Regions from separate parts of the Homo sapiens genome. Here region 1 is linked to region 2. The links are contacts of gene promoters, found by promoter capture Hi-C in blood cells and fetal thymus (Javierre and others, 2016). All regions are on one chromosome and are shown on one strand. The core of a region is centred on a gene start or on the middle of the fragment in contact, and the rest is flanking DNA. Distances in the headings are between cores, read along the strand shown. Region 1 holds the start of DENND6B (DENN domain containing 6B). Region 2 holds the start of MIOX (myo-inositol oxygenase).

What was found. The method cuts DNA at HindIII sites, captures the fragments that hold promoters and counts their contacts. A CHiCAGO score of 5 or more calls a contact.
Region 1: a contact is called between the fragment with the promoter of DENND6B here and the fragment with the promoter of MIOX in region 2, in 4 of 17 cell types (M0 macrophages, M2 macrophages, M1 macrophages and 1 more). The highest score is 6.1, in M0 macrophages.

The regions. Positions count from the first base shown.
Region 1 is chr22:50,325,719-50,328,418 of GRCh38, reverse strand. It overlaps DENND6B (DENN domain containing 6B), which reads left to right and starts at 1,407. Exons shown (of 20, transcript NM_001001794.4): 1 at 1,407-1,607. The coding sequence starts at 1,431. RefSeq lists a silencer at 1,019-1,658. The HindIII fragment of the contact is 18,876 bases long and covers 427-2,700 here.
Region 2 is chr22:50,485,436-50,488,225 of GRCh38, reverse strand. MIOX (myo-inositol oxygenase) reads right to left here and starts at 1,367. Exons shown (of 10, transcript NM_017584.6): 1 at 1,314-1,367; 2 at 761-841; 3 at 484-564; 4 at 178-340. The coding sequence starts at 1,328. It overlaps ADM2 (adrenomedullin 2), which reads right to left. Exons shown (of 3, transcript NM_001253845.2): 3 at 1,789-2,790. The HindIII fragment of the contact is 4,673 bases long and covers 1-1,808 here.

The DNA.
Region 1 (2,700 bases), core at 158-2,657, 160 kb after region 2:
GTTTCTACCAAAAATACAGAAATTAGCCTGGCGTGGTGGTGCACGCCTGTAATTCCAGCTACTCGGGAGGCTGAGGCAGGAGAATCGCTCGAACCCAGTAGGCAGAGGTTGCAGTGAGCCAAGACCATGCCATTGCACTCCTGCCTGGGCAACAAGAGCAACATTCTGTCTCAAAAAAAACAACAGAAACAAACAAACAAAAAACAATACGGCCATGTGCTACTCAACGGTGAAGCTATGTCCTGAGAAATGTGTCATTAGGCGATTTTGTTATGTGACAAACCTAGATGGGACAGCCTACCCCACACCTAGGCCAGATGATCCGAACAACACGTGGTAATCTTTTATTTTTTTATTTTTGAGATGGAGTCTCACTCTGTCGCCCAGGCTGGAGTGCAATGGCGACATCTCAGCTCACTGCAAGCTTCGCCTCCGGGGTTCAAACGATTCTCCTGCCTCAGCCTCCCCAATAGCTGGGGTTACGGCGCTCGCCAGCCACCACGCCCGGCTAATTTTTGTATTTTCAGTAGAGACAGGGTTTCACCAGGTTGGTCTCGATTTCCTGGATTCGTGATCCGCCACCCCACCTCGGCCTCCCAAAGCGGTGAGATTACAGGCGTGAGCCACCGCGTCTGGCCAACACGTGGTAATCTGAAGGGACCACCACAGTATATGCGGCCCGCCTTCCACGGAAACGTCATGAGGCCCACGACTCAAAGGCGTGCCTCATTAAGTTACCGACAGCCCCAAACTCGCCCTTCCACGCCGGGCCTCAAGGTGCTCTGTGGACCACAGCGGGGCCCGGGGCCCTCGCGAGGGAGGGAAGAGTTCGCTCCAGGTCCCCGCGATTCCCCCGGAAAGTGAAACTGCAGAGGTGTTGCGTGGACACCCGCGGTCAGACACGACCCCAGGCCGCGCGGGCCCCAGAGGAAGCGAGCGCGAGTCCGCGGTGGTGGCTGGGCGCTCAGTGAGGACGCCATTCCGCCACGAAAACGCCCGCGACGCCGCTGGCCCCTGCGCGGTGGGGCGAGGTAGGCTGGCCGGACCTGCGAAGCCCGACGAGCCCGGCGCCGGCTGGCTGCAGCTTGCTCTGCCTCCCTGGCCTGGCCCCGAGGCTCCCGCGAGCCGGGATCCGCGAACACCGGGGCCGAACCGACTCTCTCGGGCCTCAGACGGCGTGGACCCTGGAAGGCCCCAGTTCGGCCGCTTCCCCGGAAGTCCCCCAGTGGGCTCCGGCCGCTCTGGCCCGCGCGCGTCCGGCTCGCTGGTGCCCTGGGCGGCGCCCGGCCGCTGGCGCTTCTCGGGCGCTAGGGGGCGCGCGGCCGCGCGGGAGCCGCACTGGGCCGCGGCGGCCGCTCGACTGTTCTGAGGAGCGGCCCGGACGCGCGCCGCCCCCGCCCGCGTTTCCCCGGCAACCCGCGGCCGCCGCCATGGACGCGCTGTTGGGCACAGGGCCTCGCCGGGCTCGCGGCTGCCTGGGCGCGGCTGGACCCACGTCTTCAGGTCGCGCGGCGCGGACCCCGGCGGCGCCCTGGGCGCGCTTCTCCGCCTGGCTGGAGTGTGTGTGCGTGGTCACCTTCGACCTGGAGCTGGGCCAGGCGCTGGAGGTGAGCGGGCGCGAGCGCGGGCGCGGGCGGGTGGGCAGGGCTGCGCCTCTCGGGGCCAGTCCCGCCTCGCTTGGGGCCCTCGGCCGCCCCGCACTCTCCCTGGCCTTCGGCCGCCGCCTCCTGGAGGGGCCTCTTCTCCGGGCTCCAGAAGCGCTCCCCAGGCCGAGGAGGGAAGGCGAGCTGCTCGGAGTCGGATCTTGTCTTCACATTGGGATGGAGCATTTTGCATAACCTAAGTGGTACTCTTTCGATTTTTCCCAGTAAATGTCTCACATCTCCCCCCTCCATTCCCCACCGGAGCAGTGACACCTTCATCCCCTCAGTGGCTCCCGCCAGAGTCCCGGGCTTACCCTCCGCTCCGCATCCCATCTCTGGGCATAGGCGAGGCTGACGGCTCCTTCTGCAACAAAGGTCTCGGATCCGTTCCTTTGCTGCCATCACTGATGTCATCCCCACCCCAGCTGCACCCCAGAGTTCAACCTTTGTGGCTCTCCTGCTTAAAACCCTGCAGCGCCTCCTTGTTCACCTAGCATCAGATCCAGACCCCATGGGCCCCGTCCCTCCACCTGCGTCTTGTGGTGTTCTTGCTCGTGGGGGTCTGTTCATCGGCTGTGCCCATGGGCTTTCGATGTGGTCTTTCTGCTGCCTGCAGGCCTCCACTCACCTACCCACACAGGCAGCCTCCTTTCCTCCAGGGAGGCCCCGCAGGATGATCTTCTCTGTGTCCTGTGTAACACACACCAGGGAGCTGACCAGCACAGGGGAGGCCCACCTGCAGATGGAGGGAGGCTTCCCCGCGCTGGCGCAAGGAACCTCGTGAGGGGTAGTGAGCTCTCTATTACCGCAGGTGTCCAAGATCAGGCCAAATCATCATCATCAGGAAAGCCAGGCAGCGCGTCTCTGTGGTTGGGAGATGCTTTCTAAGGCCCTGCTGAACTCCAAGAGGCCATGAGAAGCATATAGTCTTCTAAACAGAAAAGCATTAACTCTAGCACTCTCTGGAGCCCCTCCCACCACACACGGTCCCCAGCAGGTGCACAGCCTCAAACAGCATCACTGGGTGGGGGCTGAGTACCAAGAAGTGTGGTGACCT
Region 2 (2,790 bases), core at 118-2,617:
GAGGATGAGCAGGTTTGCGGGGCTGAGAGCCAGGAAGGGTCCAGGGCCTGCTCCCCAACCCAGGCAGGGCTGCTGGAGGAGGCCTGGGCCCACTACTGTCCCCTCCCACCCTACAGGCTGCTGCATTCTGCCCCTTGGAGGCAGCACCTGCCCCCCTGCAGCACAGCCAGGGCTCACCCTTGTCTGGGTGGGCCTTCCGGATGCCCTCCGCTGTCTGGAAGGCATGGAAGGAGTTGGGGAAATCTACGTCCGGGTCCGACTCATCCACCAGCCCATCCAGCAGGTCCACGGCCTCCATGACTGTCATTTTCTTGTAGGAGAAGCCCCCAAACTGGGCATGCTGGCGGGGAAGGAGAAGGCAGTGTGGCCCAGGGTCAGCAGGCCCACCACACAGGCCTCTCCATCCCCTCGGCGCCTGGTGGGCTCATGGGGCTGAGGGCAAGGGTCCCTCCGCGTTTGCACGGGGCGGCAGGAAACGCCTACCTTGCTCCTGACGAAGTCCACTGTCTGGTGCGTGTGCATGAGCTTGTAGGTGGTGAAGACACGGTCCAGGAGGGGACCTGACTGCAGGCCGGAGGGTCAGTGGCGCCACCCCCACCCTGCACACGAGGCCCCATGCCTCCCCTCTCCCAGGCAGCCCCACAGGGTGTGATGGGGGTGGGAGTTCCCACAGGGCACCCCCTGGAACTGTGTGAAGGGCAAGTGCTGCTCCCCAGGGTGTGGATGGGGGAGAAGGGGGGCAGGACGGCAAGGTACTCACCGTGTAGTTCCGGAAGCTGGCCTTGTCTTTGGCCACCTCTGGGTCCACATCAGGTCGGTAGACCAGGGAAGGGTCTGGGCCCTGGGTAGGTGGAGGATTGAACCTATTTCACCATCATGTCAGCTCCACGAGGAAGCACAGACATTCCCAGGGTGGCTGCAGACTCCAAGCCTGCCTCTGCTCGAGGGCTGGTGGGTGACACGCGAGGACACAGCCTCTCCCACGCCATCATCCCAGCCCCTGCCCTGGCCTCAGCGAGTCCCAGGAGCTCTCACTCCCAGGTCCTCATCTGCAAAGCGAAAGTCAGCAGACGTCTGCTTCCGGGGTACAGGGGACACCACGCCTGAGCGGCACCCATGGCCACCCTTGAGGGGTGGAAGTGGCTTTGGGAGGAGACTGAGTCCACAGGGAGCCTGGGGGTCGGCAGCCGCTGGCTCTTGCCCAGCTGGACGGAGGAGGAGGGCTGGCCAGTGCCAGCTAGAAGAGGGCGGGAGTGGCTGGCCACCAGGAGAGCAGTCAGCAGAGCCTCTCTGCATGGGGTCTGGGTACTCACCACCGTCACCTTCATCCTGAGAGGGAGCGGCGCTCAGGTGGCAAAGCACAGGCTGGCGAGTGTGTCCTCAGCCAGGCTCCTATATACACCCCAGGTTACATAAGTGTCCGCAGTAATAAATGACCATCCACCCTCCTCCCGGCCTCAGGGAGTTAATGTGTCAGCACAGCAGCAGCCCCCAGCAGTCCCACATCCTCTGGCCCTGACTCAGCCTCACACTCCTGTCCCGAGCCGCTGACCTGCCTAGGGTTATCTGTGGGCCCAGCCTCCCACTTGGGCCCTGGCCTTAGACCCCTCTGTGGGGTCCCACAAGTAGGGGCAGACCCAAGACCCCACCCTCAAGCACACGCCCCCTCTGCACCACCCCTTCCCCGGCTGCCCCACTGGATCTCAGGAGGTGAAAACTTGTCCCCAGGCCCCCCGTGATTCTGGGTGGGGCAGGAGCTTGTTAAGAAAAGATGATTCTGAGGACTTGTTAAAATGGTGAGAAAAGCTTTATTCAAGAGAGTGGTGAGAGGAGCTCACCTCCGAGTTCAACAACCACAGCTGGAGATTGATGGCGTTGGAGGGGTCAGCGGATGGGAAGTTGTTAGGGCGGCCTTCGAGGGTAGGGGGATTCTCACTGGAGTGGCTCAATGAGGATCTTGCAGGAGGCCGGCAGGGTGATGAGATCAAGGGTGGGAGATGAGGAATGGGATCAGATATCGAGGGTGGGTAATTCTCCATAAACTGATTTAGAGGATTCTTGCTAACACCGGGGTCGGCGGGCCCAGCGAGGATGGGGATGGGGTCAGGCCTCGTCGAGGAAAGGACTCAGGGGCACCTGCCTAGAGTTCGGCCACAGAGTGTGTCAGGCTCTGGGAGAGGGGCCTCACGGAGAGTTGGAGCAGGCACGGAACCGCCAACACCCAGGCCGCCAACGCAACTTCCCATGCATGGGCCCTGCAGGCATGGAGGACACCGTGAGAACAAAGTGCCCGCGGCAGAGCTGGCGTCTTGGAGCGTGGCCAGGGAAGTCTGGGAACAGCAGTCGGCTGGGGCAGGAGAGAGGGCAGTGGGGTGCTGGGGCCATACCTAGGGCTGTGAAGATCAGAGTTCTGGGCTTCAGGGGTCAGGCAAGAGGGCTGTGGGCAGCTGACCTGACTCAACAAGATCCTGGCACAGCTGAGCTGAGAAGCAACTGTGAGGAGACCCCAGCGCCCCCCATTTAAACGGCACCTGCCCCACACTCTCCTTCCTTGTCTGACTTCCTGTGGCACTCAGCACTCCCTGCCACTCCACCACCCACTTATTCTACCTTCTACGTTTGTCTCCTTCTATCTCCCCCTAGAATGTCAGCCCCTGGGGGTCAAGGCTGTATCCTCACGTGTCCCAACACGGGTAGGTCACGTGCTCAGCATGCACTGGCCAGAGGGATGCAGACAGGTGCCTGGGAGGAGGCTACGGCCATCGCCCCGAAAGCAGGTGGTGCCTGGGT